Regions from separate parts of the Homo sapiens genome. Here all the other regions are linked to region 6. The links are contacts of gene promoters, found by promoter capture Hi-C in blood cells and fetal thymus (Javierre and others, 2016). All regions are on one chromosome and are shown on one strand. The core of a region is centred on a gene start or on the middle of the fragment in contact, and the rest is flanking DNA. Distances in the headings are between cores, read along the strand shown. Region 1 overlaps NSD3 (nuclear receptor binding SET domain protein 3). Region 2 overlaps LOC124901934 (a long non-coding RNA gene). Region 3 overlaps ERLIN2 (ER lipid raft associated 2). Region 4 overlaps FGFR1 (fibroblast growth factor receptor 1). Region 5 overlaps PLPBP (pyridoxal phosphate binding protein). Region 6 holds the start of ASH2L (ASH2 like, histone lysine methyltransferase complex subunit).

Region 1 (2,813 bases), core at 18-2,517, 260 kb before region 6:
GATATAATAAATTGCTTAGTGCCTTAAAAACTACATATCATCTTTGGCATACATTCTCTTTTGCCTTTTTTGGGGGAATGGAGGATACAAGCTAAAAGAAAGTAAATTTGAATGCTTGCAAAATTTTAAGAACCAATCTCAAACCATTTTACCATAATTTAAAAGTTTGTCCAGGAAATAGGTAAGAAAATATGTGGATGAACTTGTTAGTTTACTAGATTTCATAGTGAATGGAACAAGATGACTGATGAAAGTTGTTTGTAGTAATTTTCATTGTGAGCAACTACCCTTGCTGTAAAGGATTGGAAAATAATGTAATTTCCTTCAAGTGGTAATACCATGTCTGTTGTTGCTGGGTGTGGTCAGCAACAAAGCGAAGACAGTTGAGGTTAAACTAGATAGATAAGGGAAACAGGGTGTTTTACTAGTAAGCTTTGTATTGGTAAAAGGCAGTTCAATAGTAATGTGGTTTAGTCAGGAAAAAAATATGAACTACAAAGCCACCTAAAATGTTGTATAACTTAATGGAATCATAGTCAAGTGAAAACTGTATGATTGAATTTAGTGACAGGATTTATGGTTAAATGAAACACTTTTTTGTTGTTGTTGTTTTCTTTTTTGTATTTTGTTAACTAAGTTCTACTTCACGCAGGTTACTTCCTAATTCAGGATATTTTAATGTCTTTAATCATCATCCTTCTCTAAACATCTTTCTCTAAATTTTTAGTGGAAAATTTAAAGTGAACACATTTCAGAAAATATTTGAGGTGACAACGCTAAAGTTAAACAGATTATGGAGTAGCACAGTTATTCTTTACAGATAATTTGCTGCCTGGTGCAGTGGCTCACACCTGTAATCCCAACACTTTGGGAGGCCAAGGCGAGTGGATCACCTGAGGTCAGGAGTTCGAGACCGGCCTGACTAACATGGTGTAACCCCCTTTAGCTGGGTGTGATGGTGCATGCCTGTAATCCCAGCTACTTGGGAAGCTGAGGCAGGAGAATCACTTGAACCCTGGAGGCAGAGGTTGCAGTGAGCCGAGATTGTGCCAGGGCACTCCAACCTGGGCAACAAGAGCAAATCTCTGTCTCAAAAAAAAAAGATATTTTGCTTTATTAATAGTTTAAACTCAGAAAAGTTTAAAAAAAGTTAAGAGAAAACATACAACTTCTCTAACACACCTTGATTCCTTACTAGGATTTTGTAAAGAGAATCGTGGCCATGCTGATTTTACTCCCTAAAATCCTATCTATGTCACTAACTGTATTGGTTGTGAATTTCATATAATTGTTTGATATTACAAATAATGGTCATCTTAAATAATGTTAAGGTGATAGATGAGATTTAAAGTTAGTTTTTTATTTATTTATTTTTTTGAGACAGAGTCTCACTCTGTCACCCAGGCTGGAGTGCAGTGGCACAATCTCAGCTCACCGCAACCTCCACCTCCCGGGTTCAAGTGATTCTCCTGCCTCAGCCTCCCTAGTAGCTGGGACCACAGGCATGCACCACCACACCCAACTAATTTTTGTATTTTTGGTAGAGACAAGGTTTCACCATGTTGGCCAGGCTTGTCTTGAACTGCTGACCTCAAGTGATCTGCCTGCCTCGGCCTCCCAAAGTGCTGGGATTATAGGCATGAGCCACCACACCTGGCCAAAAGTTAGTATTTTAACCACATATATATATATATTCTTTTCAGAATGAAAACTCAAGCCCTACACTTATGTATTGATAATAGGAGGAATCACAGCTCATTTTCCCATTTTTCGTGGTCATTTTATATATGTGGATCACCTGATCCAACCTTTCTTATGATGTTAAATGAAAACCCAAAGATACTGTCTGTCCTCGGAATTTATGCAGCTAAGTTAGGGGTAGAAGCAGAACTAAAATTCAAGTCTTATGACTCTAAGACCAATGTTAGAGTACATCCTTCTACTCTGTGGACATTTTGCTTGTCCCTAGGTATATGAGTTTGTCTTACTCTGGCATAGAGATCTATTTGCTGAACTTCCTCTTATGTGACTTCTTTCTAGCATCACAGTAATATTAACAGATTTCTTTAAAAATTTATAATTCTTATTTAATATAAGCTTTTAAAGGATGTTTTTGTTAAGGTAAAATTTGAAAAATAATGTAGATCAGCACTGTCTAATAGAATTTTCTATGATGACAGAAATATTCTGTATCTGCACTGACCAATATGGTAACCTTAGCCACATGTTGATGTTGAATGCTTGAAATATGGCCATTGTAACTGAGGAACTAAATTTTTAATGTAATTTAATTTTAACTTGTTTAAATTTAAATAGCTACGTGTGGTTAGCCCAGAATTAGCTATTCTTAGTGAAGGGAAAGAATTAAGTAGATATAGGCTGGGCACGTTGGCTCACACCTGTAATCCCAGCACTTTGGGAGGCCGAGGTGGGCAGATCATGAGGTCAAGAGATCAAGACCATCCTGGCCAACATGGTGAAACCCCGTCTCTACTAAAAATTCAAAAATTAGCCAGGTGTGGTGGCGGGCGCCTGTAGTCCCAGCTACTCACGAGGCTGAGGCAGAGAATTGCTTGAACCCAGGAGGCAAAGGTTGCAGTGAGCTGAGATCATACCATTGCACTCCAGCCTGGCGACGACAGAGACTCTATCTCAAAAAAAAAAAAAAAAGAATTAAGTAGATGTGAACATAATTGTACATTCTTTGCCTTGTGATTACTATATTTGTGTGTTTTTGTGGGCTAGATGTTTAAAATCTCATTTTTCCAGTGTGTTTGCTACGTTAGATGGTAAATAAATTCTTCATGGCAAAG
Region 2 (2,851 bases), core at 121-2,620, 340 kb after region 6:
CTGGGGCGGGAGCCAGGGCTTTTCTCTGTCAGATGGTTCTTGCGAGGAACCCCTAAGCGATACGAAAGGAAACTCTTCTTTCTTCTTTTCCCTAAAGACATGGCGTGATTCAAACGTATCGTGATTTTTGTCATCTTTCAGACCACTGCTGTCCAAGAGAAATATAACGCCATCCAACTGTGTAATTTGGAAGTTTCTCATAGGCACATAAGCTTAAAAATTTTAATGATATACTTTATTTAATCCAATATATCCAAAGTAAGATTTCAACATGCAATCAATAGAAAAACTAAATGCGATATTTTAATTCTTTTGAAAATCGTATGTGTTTCTGAAACCCGGTGTAGTGTTGACTTGCATATGTCTCAATTCGGGCCATCCCTATTTCGAGAGGTTAGCGGCCACCTGCGGCCAGTGCTGTCTCATCAGGGGACACAGGCAGCATGATTATTACTATTATTATTATTGAGACAGTCTCGCTCTGTCACCCAGGCTGGAGTGCGGTGGCCCGATCTGGGCTCACTGCAACCTCCACCTCCCGGGTTCAAGCGATTCTCCTGCCTCAGCCTCCCCAGTAGCTGGGACTACAGGTGCGAGCCACCGCGCCCAGCCCACAGGCAGCTTTAGATGGTCTAGCAGGAGCTCAGCACATTCAGTTAGATTCTTTTTTTGAGATGGGGTCTCGCTATGTTGCCCAGATTATCTGGGACTCGTGGGCCCAAGCAATCCTCCCACCTCCGCCTCACAGAATAGCTGGGACTACAAACGGGCACCACAACGCCCTGAGTTTGATTCTTGAGTCCCCTTCTGTGGGCAATATGGTTATAAACTTGATGAGGAGCCAGGCCATACAAATAATAATACAGAATGCTACATAGTCAGGTGGTGAAATAGTAGGTGCTACGGGCAAGGAGAAGGAGATCAATTTTGTTAAGGAAAGCACTCTTGGCTGCAATTTCTGTTGAAAGTTTCTCAAACATTAATTCAACTTAATGAAGTGGGATGCTATTATATTAGAGAAATGGCTAATGTTTGTTCTTCAGGTGGTCTTGTCTTGAGGTGATGGGGTTTATTAGAGCTTTCCGGAAAGAAGGGGCAATATTCTTACTCTCTCCTCTCACAGTTTTTCCCCAGACTCCCAGGAACAGAGATGGAATTTCACATCTTCTGCTCTGGGAAAGTCACATTAGGCAGAACCTCAGATCCTTAAAATAAGGGACTTCTTTTTGGGAAGTCTCTGGTCATTTACCCTGGTACACATTAACTGGGTTATCTGCAAACTAGGACTGCCAACATTAGGAGTAATTGTGTTCAGATAAAATGTCTCTAGACTTGATACATCTGTACTCCAACCAAAATGATAAAAAAATTTAAAATGACCAGAATGGCCCTTTGTGGTGTGAGCATAATAGATGCTTGCTGTAGAGACACAGGTGGGAAGGAGCGAGCCAGCAGTGAGTGATGGGGAGGACAGAGGGGATCATGGTGATGGGATGTGTAGAGGAAGGATTGGGTGAGATGAAACACTTCAAATAATGTGCTATTTGGAAAACATTTTAAAACCATAAATACCTCACAGATCTAGGGAATGTATAATCCAGGTGTTACGTCACTATGACAACAAGTAGTTGTAGCTTCATTTACTAGATTGGGCCTCTATTCTTTTTTGTGTTTTTTGAGACGAAGTCTTGCTCTGTCACTCAAGCTGGAGTGCAGTGACGCGATCTCGGCTCACTGCAACCTCTGCCTCCTGGGTGCAAGTGATTCTCCTGCCTGAGCCTCCCGAGTAGCTGGGACTACAGGCGTGCATCACCACGCCCGCCTAATTTTTGTATTTTTAGTACAGATGGGGTTTCACTATGTTAGCCAGGTTGGTCTCGAACTCCTGACCTTGTGATCCACCCGCCTCGGCCTCCCAAAGTGCTGGGATTACAGTCGTGGGCCACCGTGCCCAGCCAGGGACCTCTATTCTTTGAACTACAAGGCAAGGTCATCCTCCCACCCCCTTATCCATTCAGTGAACATTTACTGAGGCGTTACTCTGTAAAGAACCCTGAGAGAGACCAGGCTGAGTAAGACAGGCTTTACTGCCGATTTACTTCCAATATGCTCGCTTTTCATCTCTGACATTCTGTGGTCTTATGAAAATGGAAATGGAGACAAAAAGATCATGGTGCCCCCAGTCCCATGGTCATTTCACATTCCAATTTCTTCTTAGTTGTACTTTTGAATTAATTTTATTTCACTTTGTCCCTTTTTTTCCTTATTTGCTTTTTTAATTTCTTCTCTTCCTCTTCCTGGGACATCAACCATCCAATTTAACCTTTCATCCTCCCCTACTACCTAATCCTTGAAAAATACAAGTCCAAAATCATTTCATCACCAGTAATTGTCTTTAAATTGCTCCAATAATTTGCAAGGACCAAGGGGAAAAGAGAAAGATTAAAAAGCCAAATGCCCAGAGAAACAGATTTTATAAATAATCTAAAATCTAGTATACTTATTCACCATCAATGCCATCAAGCTTTTAAAACACCCTCATAGTCTGGAATAAATCCAAATTATGAGAAAAACATATATGGATTTAAAAATTGTTTCCTTCTGAGCCTACTGTGAGTCTTTTAGGGGGATAAAAAAGTAAAAAGTAAAATAGAAAATTACTGTTGCCTGGTTACTTAGCTCTAAAGAGAAACGGAGAAATAATGCCCATGTCCCATCCCAGTTTAAATGAATTCAGGTAGAGTAGCCCATGACAGCAAGCCCTTGGCACACATGCCATCACATCTGGCCTTTGAAATGTCTATAGAGATAGTAGAACCCTAGACCTAGGGAAGACTTAGGGAGGTTTCAT
Region 3 (3,123 bases), core at 268-2,767, 360 kb after region 6:
ATTTACCAACTTTTTCTTAAAAGCACAGTGAATCCAAAACAGATAAAAGACTACAAACCCTATAAAATGAATTTAGATTCATTTTCTACTGCAGAAACATTAAAAGTAATTTGGATGATTTCCTAAATCTTAAATGGTGCAAAAGGCGGTTTGCTTAATTATGATTGCTGGCGATGTGGATGAGTCCTCCTGTCTGCTATGAAAAATGTTCTTGCTCAGGGTCCCTTTTATGAAGATTCCTGGGAAAAATCATTTTCCAGTCCTAGTGTCAAGAACAGTTATACTATTGGTTAAAAATTCATTTACTTTTGGCATTGGCTATTAGAGAATTTCTGGCAGTGAGTTTAAACAGAATACTTGACTGCAAACAAGTTATAACAGTTACCCAACTGTGTCCTTCCTTTGCTGCTAAGTCAGGTTGCCTTTACTTTGAAAAAGGTAAAAAGGACAAAACATATCTACTTAGGCACGTGGAATCTTTTTGTTTAAAGTGTTTTTCTATTCGTTGCTACAGGTACAGAGTAAAAAAATAATAATCACAAAGGTTCTGAGAACTGGAAGGAGCTATGGTTCTCATCTCACTTCTAGAATTAACTATGAATCATGTCTTTTTCATCACCCATTCCTGGGGGCCCTCCATTCAGTGTTGCATGGTGAGAAGAATGCTGAAGAGCCAGGAGAGGAAGGCTCCTGTTTCAGCCCCACTACTAATTGGCATCTGGCTCTGTGACTTTCTTGCTTTGGGTCACAGTACCCTCAGCTTAAAATGAGGATGCTGGTCTGGACAATCTCTAAGGTTCTTCTAGAATGGACCTTGTCTTCATTATAGAATGATAGTTTAGGAACAGTGGGAACACATTTCCACTCCAGCCTCTGATTGAGGCCAGAAGTGAATACTCTACTCCACTATGGTCCCTGTGCCCAAAGCTCCAGCCCTCTAAGGATCTTGTTGCATAGCTATCAGCATTCTCCATGAACTCCTTTGTGACCAGCTCCTGAGCACAAGATTCTTTAACATTTCCTGTCCATAAGTGACCATCACACCCTGCAGGCAGCCAGGCTTTAGGCAGTGGAGAGACGCGGGGTTCCAGGAACCCTGCTTAAGCACGGCATGCTCAGGAGAGACTTTCTTACCAAACAGCTCAATGTAGACCTCTTGAAGCGTGTGCACACTGCAGAACTGGTTCAGTTCGTGGTGGATCTTGTTGAAGATGAGGGCCTTGTCATAGTCAGCAGTATAGTTCTTCACTATATCATACACTGAGAGGGAAGGAGAGGGCTTGGCATAAGAAAAGGCAAGACTCAAAATGCCCTCAGACACGGCAGCTCTCCTTTTCCAAGGTGCTACAACAGACACGGGAGTGGCATGCTGGGGAAAGTGAGCTGGTGGTGGGAATAAACTGTTAAGACGTACCTGCGTTCGGGACCAGGAAGTTCACCACTTCAATTCTGTCAAAGTAGATCATCACACCACCACTATTGGAGGGAGAATGGACAAGAAGTCACTGGGAAGCCTTAGAATATGGTGCAGTCCCCCAGGGTGATGGCGTAAGATGTGGGGCTTGGCAGAAAAGGAGTAGAAGAGTTCACGGGAAGTTGGAAGGCAGCTTGGATCTCCAAGTGGGAGGTTCTGCAGGGCTCATGGCAACAACATACTCTCCTGAGAAATCACACTGCCTAGGAACATCTCTACAAAGACATGAATGAGACTTTTGGGGACCAGTACGAAAGAGTAACTCATATCTTTGGAATCAGCAATGCCTTTTGATTAATCAGTTGCACGGAAAAGACTAAGGAGGGTCAAGGTGAAGTTTTCAGAACTTAGAAGGTTACTGTGGAATGTTATGATCAATGTTTCTTAAACTGTCTTCACTATTACTTTGGTGTCACACTCCCTTTGCCCTCAAATATTTATTATAAAAAGATTTCAAACATAGAGAAGCCGAAAGAGTAGTATAACTAACATCCATATCCAGATACCTGAATTCAACACTGATAACATTTTACCTTATTTATTGACCTTTTTTTTTTCTGAACATTTCAAAGTAAGCTGCAGTTAGGATACTTTACTCCTTTACTTTGGTGAGCACTGTCTTAAGAATAATCATTCTCCTACACACTCATGGTATCATTCCCAAGCCTAAGAAAATTAGCAATAATTCTGTAATATCACCTAATACCCAGTCCTTATTCAGATTTCCCCAACAGTTTGTGTTATGGACTGACCTGTGTATGCCTCGCCCCCAGATTCATATGTTGAAGCCCTAACCCCCAATGTGACTGTATTTGGAGATTAGACCTTTAAGAAGGTAATTAAGGTTAAACAGGTCATAAGGGTGGGCTGTAATCCAAAAGGTCTGGTATCCACCAAAGACCTTTTTCTCTCTTCTTGCACATACAGAGGAAAGGCCTTGTGAGGATGTGACAAAAAGGTGGTCACCTGCAAGCCAGAAAGAGAGGTCTCACCAAAACTACCCCTGCTGTTACCCGGATCTTGGACTTTGGGCCTTCAGAATGGTGAGAAAATATCTATTATTTTAGTCCCTTGGTGTGTAGTCCTCTGTCATGGCAGCCTGAGTGGACTCATATAGTTTCTGTCGTATCTGTTATAGCTGTTAATTTTGAACCAGGTTCTAATCAATGCTCACCCTTGCTTCTGTTTATGTTTCTTGTAAGTCTCTGTCCAATCCAGCATCCCTCTAAATACAACCACTTTGTGAAGAGATCAGGCCTGCGATCTTGTGGGATGTTCCAATTCCGGATTTGTCAGAGTGTTTCTTTGTGGTATTCTTTGTCACTCTATCCCAGTTTAAACTGTCTTTGCTTTCCAGTGGGACCGCTGTAGCAGTGTTCTCTTCGGATCTCTTTGCCCTGAAGGTCTCCCCTACCTTTATGACATTCTCTTTAGTTATGCAAGTTATCTTCTTGTATCAGGTCATTTATCTGCTAAAAACCTTTGTGCATCCTCACTTCTTTTTTTGTTTTTAACGTTAAAATTTTATTTTATTTTCCATTGTTTAAATTCAGAGGTACATGTGCAGGATGTGCAGGTTTGTTACATAGGTAAACGTGTGCCATGGTGGTTTGCTGCTCAGATCATCCCATCACCCAAGTATTAAGCTC
Region 4 (3,076 bases), core at 577-3,076, 310 kb before region 6:
TGCTTCTGTCCTTGCAAAGAAAATCTTGTCCCATTCCAAGCAAACAGCAGGCCTCGGGCCCAGCAGAACAGCTTCTCTGGTGCCTTTGCTGCCCACACCTGCTCCGCTGCCTGCTTGGGGTTACCTGGGAGTGGAGGGGGTGTTCTGCACCTTGAGATTGTTCTATGACGTCACTCTGTTCCTTGGCGTCAACCTGGGCTGTGGTCAGGTGTTTATCCTGGATCCATCGCTTGCAGGCTTTCCTCACCACATCCCTGCCCACTCACTACCACCTATTGCAACAACGGCTCCCATGAGAGGGAAGAGAAAACAAGTTTGGATGAAGTGGGGAGGAGAGAATCAAGTCCCAGGGAAAAGCAGCCCCTCGACACATACCCCACTCCCTTAGCCTTTATCCTGCCCTCCTCCCTTCCCAAGTAAATGAGTCTCAACGTGTTCTTTAAAGCGGACGCAACAGAGAAAGACTTGTCAGACCTGATCTCAGAAATGGAGATGATGAAGATGATCGGGAAGCATAAGAATATCATCAACCTGCTGGGGGCCTGCACGCAGGATGGTGGGTGCCGGCCAGACTGGCTTTCCCTGCCCAGCGGGGAGAAGATCTGAGCTGGGGTATCAGTCCCAAGGCCTCTCTCAGCCACAGCTAGGGAAGGGGGTTAAGAGAGGCTGCTTTGGCAGAGGTTTAAAATGTGTTATCTCGGGATCTGGGCTCCGCTCATTGGTGTTCATTCAGGAATACAGATACCTAGATTCACACACGTGGTGTGTTAACAGAGGCAGCTGAGTAATTATGGTCTAAGAGCGCTCAGGCTGGGTGCAGTGGCTCATGCCTGTAATCCCAGCAATTTGGGAGGCCGAGGCAGGAAGATCACTTGAGATCAGGAGTTCGAGACCAGTCTGGTCAAAATGGTGAAACCCCATCTCTACTAAAAAATACAAAAGTTAGCCAGGCATGGTCACGCATGCCTATAATCCCAGCTACTCAGGAGGCTGACGCATAAGACTTGCTTGAACCCGGGAGGTGGAGGTTGCAGTGAGCCAAGATCACGCCATTGTACTCCAGCTTGGGAGATACTCCCGCTGTCTCAAAAATAAAATAAATAAATAGGCCAGGCACAGTGGCTCACGCCTGTAATCCCAGCACCTTGGGAGGGTGAGGCGGGTGGATCACTTGAGGTCAGGAGTTGGAGACCAGCCTGGCCAACAGGTGAAACCCCATCTCTACTAAAAATACAAAAAGTAGCCGGGCGTGGTGGCGCATGCCTGTAATTCCAGCTACTCGGGAGGCTGTGGCAGGAGAATCGTTTGAACACGGGAGGCGGAGGTTGCGGTTAGCCGAGATCGCGCCATTGCACTCCAGCTTGGGCAACGAGCAAAACTCCATCTCAAAAAAAAAAAAAAAAAAAAAAAAAATTAGCCAGGCATTGTTCATGCCTGTAATCCCAGCTGCTTGGGAGGCTGAGGCAGGAGAATCACTTGAATCCAGAAGGCAGAGGTTGCAGTGAGCCGAAATTGCGCCACTGCACTCCAGCCTGGGCAACAGAGTGAGACTCCATCTCAAAATAAACAGACAAACTGGGGCTCTTACCCCAATGTTGCTCGGGAATTTTCTGGACTATGCTGGGAGTAATTATTTCTCTGATTTTTTTTGGGTAGTAGAATGGATTTCCCAGGTCCCCTAAGAGGAGGCAGGAGATGGGAGGTTGGCCGGGGTGTGCTGCTGGGGGTGGGGTTTCTTTGAGGTGAAGCCAAACCTGCTCACCTGCTGCTGGCCCCATGGCCTCTTCTCCTGTGCCTGCAGGTCCCTTGTATGTCATCGTGGAGTATGCCTCCAAGGGCAACCTGCGGGAGTACCTGCAGGCCCGGAGGCCCCCAGGGCTGGAATACTGCTACAACCCCAGCCACAACCCAGAGGAGCAGCTCTCCTCCAAGGACCTGGTGTCCTGCGCCTACCAGGTGGCCCGAGGCATGGAGTATCTGGCCTCCAAGAAGGTGTGGAACCTGAAGGCTCCCCTGGGTAATGCCAGGGTGGGAACAGAGCCCCCCTAGTCTTCCAGCCTGTGACTTATCATCTTGTGGTGGCGTTGTGGATGCACTGAGCACTGGCCCTGTGTGCCCTGTGTGTTGTCTTAGGCTCTCTGGGAACTGCAGAGTCAGGAGCACCAGTGTAGCCAGGTGGCCTTGGGGTCAGACTGATGCAGGGTCCGATCTGTGCACTGCCACTTTCTGCGTAGCCTCAGGCAGCTACTTAGCATCTTAAAATTCTTCAAATACAAAATAATAATAATATCAGCTGGGTGCAGTGGCCAAGGCGGGAGGATTGCTTGAGCTCAGGAGTGTGAGACCAGGTTGGGCAATATATTGAAACCCCGTCTTTAAAAAAAAAAAAAAAATTAAAAAATTAGCTGGGTGTGGTAGTGCGTGCCGATAGTCCCAGCTACTCGGGAGGCTGAGGTGGGAGGCTAGCTTGAGCCCAAGAGTTTGAGGCTGCACTGAGCCATGATCACACCACTGCACCCCAGCCGGGGCGACAGAGCAAGGCCCTGTCTCAAAAGAAAATAAAGTATAACAATACCTGTTGTAGAATTGTTATGAAGATAAAATGAAACTGTCTGTGAGTGTTGAGTGCAGTGTTTGGTGTGTAAGGGCTGGCCTGGTTTGAGCCCAGCCCCATGTGGACTTGCTGTGCTGGGAGGCAGGACCTAGGAGCATGCATCGCTGCAGACGCAGCAGAGGCATAAGGGGCCAGTCTTTGGGGAAGGAAGGGAGGAGCGCTTGCTGTGATGAGAAGCCTGGAGCTGGCAGAGAATGTTAGAAGAGGGAAAGCAAAGGTTCGGGGGGCAGAGCAGTGTGGCAGAAGTTCTATGAGACAAGTCGGCTAGTTGCATGGGTGGCGGCCGCCCAGAGCCTTCCAGCTCCCTCACCTCCCCGCCTCCCGCTCTCCCTTCCTCCTTCCTCAGTGCATACACCGAGACCTGGCAGCCAGGAATGTCCTGGTGACAGAGGACAATGTGATGAAGATAGCAGACTTTGGCCTCGCACGGGACATTCACCACATCGACTACTATAAAAAGAC
Region 5 (3,167 bases), core at 668-3,167, 330 kb after region 6:
CTGCTTAACCACACAGAGCCATAGTTTACACACGTTGGTGCAAACTGGGTGGAAAAGGAAGCCCTTTTCTTTACCTATGTGTTCCTTGAGGGGAGGACAGATTAGTAAAACATTTTGGTAGACAGTCTGGATTCTTTTGTCCTTAGTCATGAGGCTGATGTAATAGCATTCAACTAATTTCATGGTAAAGACAGTCACAGTTCCCAGAGAAATCCTTTCCCCTTGCACCACTGGTGACATTCCACTCCTACTGCAGCCCTTCAGGAATTGGTAAGCGAGTACTTCCTCCTTCAAAGCTTTGGTGGGATGCACACGACCACTTCTTTTCTGAAGGATGAAGATGTCCTGGATTTTAAGAATGTCCTGTCTGACCTCATTCCTGTGTGTCTAGCCTTGGGGAACAGAATTCACTGCTGGTCCAGCTTCAGGGGGAAGGCACAGGGTTGCACACTCTGGGCCCTGCAGCCTGTGAGATTAGCTTGAATCATGAGGAATGAGCTTGGGAGGGAGATGGGATGACGAGAGGGGAGGCCAATCCCACTCATGGCTGGGTTTAATGCTCTCCTTCCTTCTCACCCCCACTGCCTGTGGTTTCAAAGTTTGTTCTGCATTAAGATGCGTCAATTCTCAGCTGTTCCACTGGAATAGAAACACACACACTTATTTTATGGTAATAAGGCTCGTTTAAATGAAAGCTGCACATCTAAGAATATGCCACTTATCAATTATTAAAGGTAGAGATAGAAGATACCAGTGTGGAGTAGTGACCATGTTCTGGGCCAGAAAGTCAAGTCCTGAGTTTATTTCTCGTCCTGCCACAACTCACTCTGACCTCAGACAAGGAGAACACGGAACCTTCTCTGGGCCCCAGTGCCCCGTCCACAAAGGGACATTGCCTATCAGCCTACACAAGTCTACCAGCTGTTGTGATGGTGAAATGAGAGAATATAGAGAATAGTGCTGCATATGCCATCAATGTTAAACAAAAGGTGGGGGGTACCATTTGAGTATTAAGAGGTTGCTTTAAGAACTGTGATAGAATCTGTGAGGAGCTCCCCAAGAGATCAAAGTCTTGATGGACTATTGGGAGGTTTTGTGGCGTCTCAAGCCTTCTGAGGCTGGCTTCAGGGCAGACAAGGGCCCAGCGCCTTCAGAGACTGTGAGGCTGCACAGGTGGGCCCAATCCAGGAGAGCAAGCCGTCCAAACTCCAGGAACTGGCTTTCATGAAAATCTGGAAGAAACCCAACCTGCCACCCATCATGCGTAACGAAAGACAAACTCACAACCTGGCTCAATTTTCTCTCTGCAAAATATCCCATCCTGCTGGGGACACCCTAGACACACTTTGGTGTCCTTCCCTTATCTAGATCTGATTGAGCCTTCCCTGGCTTTCCTCCTTATTCGCTGTTTTTGTTTTGTTTTGAGATGGGGTCTCACCTTGTCACCCAAGCTGCAGTGCAGTGGTGCGATCTCAGCTCACCGTGACTTCTTCCTCCCAGGCTCAAGCGATCCTCCCACCTCAGCCTCTGGAGTAGCTGGGTCCACAGGCATGTGCCACCATGCCCAGCTAATTTTTGGGCGGGGTATTTTTGGTACAGACAAGATTTCACCGTGTTGCCCAGGCTAGCTGGTATCGAACCCCTGAGGCTCTGCAAGTCACACTATCACTTGAGAGCGTCATGTCCTCTCTGGCCTCCACCAGACTGAGTAACCAGGAGTCCCTCATAAGGTAAACTACTGACAGTGGAGAGCCAGTGCTTGTCCCTCAGGTTAGCCAATGTCGCCATCTAGAGGCAATTCAAAAGTCTCTTGCAGTGAGGGGTAACTATTTTTGTAATTCTTGAAATGTCCTTTTTCTTGCCCTTAGAAGTTCAGAATCCCTCTCACCCATGGTGTAGCTTTGGCTGCGTCTGTGACCCCAGGGAAGCCCTCCTCCAAAGCCAGGCTGGCACAATGCCAAGGCACCAGCATAGCTGCTTCCCGTCGGTTCCAATGCCCCCACCTGTTATATTCAGTCACTACACCAGATCATAAAAAATAAATCTTTTAATTGCTTTGTAATTGGCACAGATGGTGTAATTCAAACTCACATTTTTATTTAATAGACTCTGAAATATCACACTGTAGCTCTCACTGAAATAATACAGGAATCATAATGTTTAAGTTTACAAAAGTACATTTGGCAGCATCATGATGTTTTGAAAGTTACCTGTAAAATCAAAGACTGGGGCTTCAAAAAATAAGAGAAAAAGCCATCTGGAAAATAAAAAACAAGCCATACTGAAGCCATTTGTCATGACTATTAGAGAATGGTGTTTTTGGGTTTTTTGAGGATCTTGCTACTTTATTAATGATCCAGAAGAGTTGCACAATTCTGGCTTGTAAATACAGTGGGGAAGCTGTAACTATGCCTGGAAAGTGCTCCTCAGGACAAGGAATGTCAAAGCCAGGCTTTGTTGAAACCATGTGCCTGAAAAGGCTTTGAAGGAATCTTTCGTTTCTTAGGAGTAATGAGATTCACTGGGTTTTGATTTAAAAAATCACCCTAAAGAGGATTATAGTGGAGGAGATAATCATTAAATTCTCATCACTGTAGGTCCCAGAGGAAAAACGCAAAGTCCTGTCTCTTCAGGATGATGTCAGAAAGGCCCAAGTCCTCCTTATGTTATCCTTTAATTTCAGGGATAAAACAGAGTGGCAGTGACACAAGCTCTCACTACCAAATTAATTTTTTTTTTAAGAGACAGGCTGTCTCTAAAAAAGTTGGGGGGTATTATCTGCATATTAAAAGGTTGCTTTAAGAAATGTGACAGCATCTATGAAGAACTTCCCAAGAGATCAAAGCCTTCATGGACTATTGGGATTTTTTTTTTTTTTTTAAGGCAGGAGTACAGTGGTGCAATCATAGCTCACTGCAGCCTCAAACTCCTGGGCTCAAGTGATTCTTCCATTCTTCCACCTCAGCCACCATGCCCAGTTAATTTTTAAATTTTTTTGTAGAGACGGGGGGTGGGGCTCCTGCTGTTGCTGAGGCTGGTCTTGAACTCCTAGGCTCAGGTGATCCTTCCGCCTCTGTCTCCCAAATTGCTGGGATTACAGGCATGAGTCACCATGCCTGGCCAGCAACAATTTGTGTTTTGAGAATTAACCTGAGCCATTTCCTGAA
Region 6 (3,161 bases), core at 195-2,694:
TACTTTATTTTATTTTTTTAAGAGACGGGGGTCTCCCTATGTTGCCCAGGCTGGTCTCAAGTGATCCTGAGGTCTCAGCCTCCCAAAGTGCTGGGATTACAGGCATGAGCCACCGTGCCTGGCCTGAATGTATTTTTGATTCGCTTAAAAATGTAAAAACAAGGCCGGGCGCGGTGGCTCACGCCTGTAATCCCAACACTCTGGGAGGCTGAGGCGGGAGAATCAACTGAGGTTAGGAGTTCGAGACCAGCCTGGCCAACATGGTGAAACCCCGTCTCTACTAAAAAGACAAAAAAAAGAAGCCAGGTGTGTTGGCAGATGCCTGTAATCCCAGATACTCGGGAGGCTGAGGCAGGAGAATCGCTGGAACCCGGGGGGAGGAGGTTGCAGTGAGCCGAGATCGCGCCACTGCATTCCAGCCTGGGCGACAGAGCAAGGCTCCGTCGCAACAAAAAAAAAAAAAAAAGAAGAAGAAGAAATAACTAAAACAAACCCTATTTTGTCTTGCAAACAACTAAAAATACTTACTAGTGTATCTTTTCCATTAGATGATTCTGTCTCCAAGCCACCGCTTACATCGACCAAGTTTGCCTCCCTATAAGATAATGAAAGCGCTCAAGTAAGAATTCTCAAGACAAACCTCAAAATGCCTATTCCCAAAAATGATGATCAAATTACAGCCGAACTTCATACTCCTGCAGCTTTTTCAGCTAAGCCTGATCTCAGACTGGATGCCCAAGGTACTGTCAGGATACTGAGAAGGTGGACATGTCAGACAGTCGCGGACCCACGGAGCACAGGGAAGCCTAACCGGCCTTTACAGTCAAATCTACCTGGGTTAGAGTTGGTCCTGGGAGAGGTTCAAAGAGAGGCAGCTCTCCCACCCTGTTTTCAGAGTGACCGTTACTTCTTCCAGTCTGGCACTGCAAAGTGGTTTCTTTTCTGGAATATGTGAAGGCCTCCCGTTAAAGTGTGAGCTACCAGCTTCCTGCCAGGGTGCAAGGATCAGAGATAACGACAGGAGCCTCAGCTCCCACCGCCCGTGAAAGGTGCGGAAGGGGCGTTATCCGAGATATGCTTGAGAGGGGACGGGCCAAGCGGCGCAGAGGCAGGGCGAGCCATTGGCGGCGGGGCCTGGGTTCGCAGGGGGCGGGCGGCAGGGCTCCAGGAGCCGCGGGATTCGCGAGGGGCGGGCCTCCCTCCCGCGTCTTCCTCGGGCGGCAGGACCTCTTACCCGCCTTCAGCCTCCCCGGAACTGGGCTCAACTGTCGGAGCAGCAGAGATCCCCTCTCCAGGAGGAGCGGCTGCTCCCGCTGCCACCGGCTTCATCTCCCCCTCTTCTGCCCCTGTTGCATTTGCGACCGCTCCTGGGCCAGGCCCGGCACCCGCTTCCTGGCCAGGTCCTGCTCCTGCCGCCGCCATCACGGCCACCCCTGGACTTCTCGCGAGAATACTCTCTTCTCTCGCGCGCGTTGCTGTGTGACGCTGTAGTCTTCAAACAGAAAAAGCCCGCGGTGCGTCCACCGCCTGCCTGAGGAAGCATAATTCCACGACCGCTTTAAGGCCAGGCGCGCGGGCAGAGGTGGGCCGGCCTCCCGCGCCGGCGGTGGCCGCGGGCCTGGCAGGCTGAAGGTGGAGGAAGCTAGATGGTTAGTGCGGCTCTCTGGAGGACTTCCTTTCGAGTCAGGGACTGACGCGGCGTATTTTCGTGGCTACGACTGGATATTCTGCGCAGAAGAGGGTCCTTGAGAGCGCTGGCCGTGCCGTGCCGCCAAACACTCCTCACCACCGAATGTGGGAAACGTCTTCCTTGGAGTCTAGCACTCCCTGCCCGCCCCGGATGGAATTTGGTTTTCTGCGCAGGGTCGCCCCTTGGAGCCCGTTTCCAAATGATTTTAAGAGGGAAGGGAATCTAGGGAGGCCGATTCCAGGGGCGAGGGTGGAAAACCCAGGCCGGGCAGCCGAGGAGCGGCGTGGGCACTAGAAGCGGCTCGCCGCTTCCTACTGTGAGAGGCGGAAAGCGAAGCCCCGGGGTGTGCCGGGGCACTCGGAATGTAGACAAGTTTGGTGCCCAGCGAAAGGAAGAGGTGTGGACTGAAAGTACGAACTTGGGAAGTCATCAACAGTAGCTGGTGGCTGGCATCAGTGGAGTGAGTTGAGTCTTTCAGAGCCATGGTCTCCAAACTCGAGAATGCAAACCTCTGAGAGTGTTGCGGCCAGGAACGTTTTCAGGACACCAGTGTTTATCCTATATCCTAAAATGTTGCCTAACGATAATACACTCTTCTCCCGCTTTACACAAGAACGGCGCACCCCTCGCCAATCCTCAGTCTAATCTTACTGTGATGTGTCCACCGATAGTGTAGGAATCTCTGGGCCACTGGACGCCATGGGAAATACGTAGATATTGATTTCCCAATTGGTTCTCAATTATTGGTTTTCAACAAAATTGAAGAAAGACCTAACTGAGTTGCCAGGTTACATTTTTAAAATTGATGATAAATACTTAAATCAGGGGTTGGTACTCCAAAGAGAAGCAGGATGCTTGATCTAAGTATCTCCTCCCAAATACGTAGTATTGTAGCAGTTTTAACATATGGTCGCAGAATTTTGTGTTTTCTTGTTGTTGTTTGTTTGAGACAGAGTCTCGCTCTGTCGCCCAGGCTGGAGCGCAGTGGCCCGATCACGGCTCACTGCAACCTCCACCCCAGGTTCAAGCGATTCTCCTACCTCAGCCTCCCGAGTAGCTGAGATTACAGGTATCTGTCACCACGCCCGGCTAATTTTTGTTAGTAGAGGCGGGGTTTCACCATGTTGGCCAGGCTGGTGTCGATCTCCTGACCTCAAGTGATCCACCCACCTGGGCCTCCCAAAGTGCTGGGATTACAGGTGTGAGCCACCGCGCACGGCTTTTTTTTTTTTTTTTTGAAACGGAGTCTCGGTTTGTCGCCCAGGCTGAGTGCAGTAGCGCGATCTCAGCTCACTGCAACCTCCACCTCGCGGTTTCGGGTTCAAGCGATTCTCTTGCCTCAGCCTCCCGAGTTGCTGGGATTACAGGCACGCGCCATGACGCCTGGCTAATTTTTGTATCTTTAGTAGAGACGGGGTTTCACCTGTGTGTTTTTTTTTTTTTTTTCTGAGACAGAGTCTCGCACTGTCGC

What was found. The method cuts DNA at HindIII sites, captures the fragments that hold promoters and counts their contacts. A CHiCAGO score of 5 or more calls a contact.
Region 1: a fragment that was not itself captured here is called in contact with the fragment with the promoter of ASH2L in region 6 in 1 of 17 cell types (erythroblasts); the score reaches 5.2 in erythroblasts.
Region 2: a fragment that was not itself captured here is called in contact with the fragment with the promoter of ASH2L in region 6 in 3 of 17 cell types (neutrophils, total CD8 T cells and naive CD4 T cells); the score reaches 8.6 in neutrophils.
Region 3: a fragment that was not itself captured here is called in contact with the fragment with the promoter of ASH2L in region 6 in 1 of 17 cell types (neutrophils); the score reaches 6.7 in neutrophils.
Region 4: a contact is called between a fragment that was not itself captured here and the fragment with the promoter of ASH2L in region 6, in 1 of 17 cell types (naive CD8 T cells). The highest score is 7.7, in naive CD8 T cells.
Region 5: a fragment that was not itself captured here is called in contact with the fragment with the promoter of ASH2L in region 6 in 3 of 17 cell types (neutrophils, erythroblasts and fetal thymus); the score reaches 8.1 in neutrophils.

Annotation. Positions count from the first base shown.
Region 1 is chr8:38,366,276-38,369,088 of GRCh38, reverse strand. All of the region lies in intron 1 of NSD3 (nuclear receptor binding SET domain protein 3), which reads left to right. Among named protein-coding and RNA genes, the nearest start is that of NSD3, 15 kb to the left of the region's middle. The HindIII fragment of the contact is 1,665 bases long and covers 435-2,099 here.
Region 2 is chr8:37,759,391-37,762,241 of GRCh38, reverse strand. LOC124901934 (a long non-coding RNA gene) reads left to right here. Exons shown (of 2, transcript XR_007060889.1): 2 at 1-2,851. Among named protein-coding and RNA genes, the nearest start is that of PLPBP, 1.8 kb to the left of the region's middle. RefSeq lists an enhancer at 1-48. The HindIII fragment of the contact is 2,312 bases long and covers 215-2,526 here.
Region 3 is chr8:37,742,708-37,745,830 of GRCh38, reverse strand. It overlaps ERLIN2 (ER lipid raft associated 2), which reads right to left. Exons shown (of 12, transcript NM_007175.8): 5 at 1,415-1,476; 6 at 1,135-1,260. Among named protein-coding and RNA genes, the nearest start is that of ERLIN2, 7.6 kb to the right of the region's middle. The HindIII fragment of the contact is 4,955 bases long and covers 1-3,123 here.
Region 4 is chr8:38,414,786-38,417,861 of GRCh38, reverse strand. FGFR1 (fibroblast growth factor receptor 1) reads left to right here. Exons shown (of 18, transcript NM_023110.3): 12 at 446-556; 13 at 1,802-1,992; 14 at 2,961-3,076. Among named protein-coding and RNA genes, the nearest start is that of LETM2, 30 kb to the right of the region's middle. RefSeq lists enhancers at 608-1,273, 1,714-2,484. The HindIII fragment of the contact is 8,773 bases long and covers 1-3,076 here.
Region 5 is chr8:37,778,631-37,781,797 of GRCh38, reverse strand. PLPBP (pyridoxal phosphate binding protein) reads right to left here. Exons shown (of 8, transcript NM_007198.4): 8 at 2,030-3,167. Among named protein-coding and RNA genes, the nearest start is that of ADGRA2, 17 kb to the left of the region's middle. RefSeq lists enhancers at 1-868, 809-1,309. The HindIII fragment of the contact is 3,237 bases long and covers 299-3,167 here.
Region 6 is chr8:38,103,812-38,106,972 of GRCh38, reverse strand. ASH2L (ASH2 like, histone lysine methyltransferase complex subunit) reads right to left here and starts at 1,444. Exons shown (of 16, transcript NM_004674.5): 1 at 1,235-1,444; 2 at 529-595. The coding sequence starts at 1,422. RefSeq lists silencers at 1,057-1,256, 1,587-1,676 and an enhancer at 1,347-1,476. The HindIII fragment of the contact is 22,171 bases long and covers 1-3,161 here.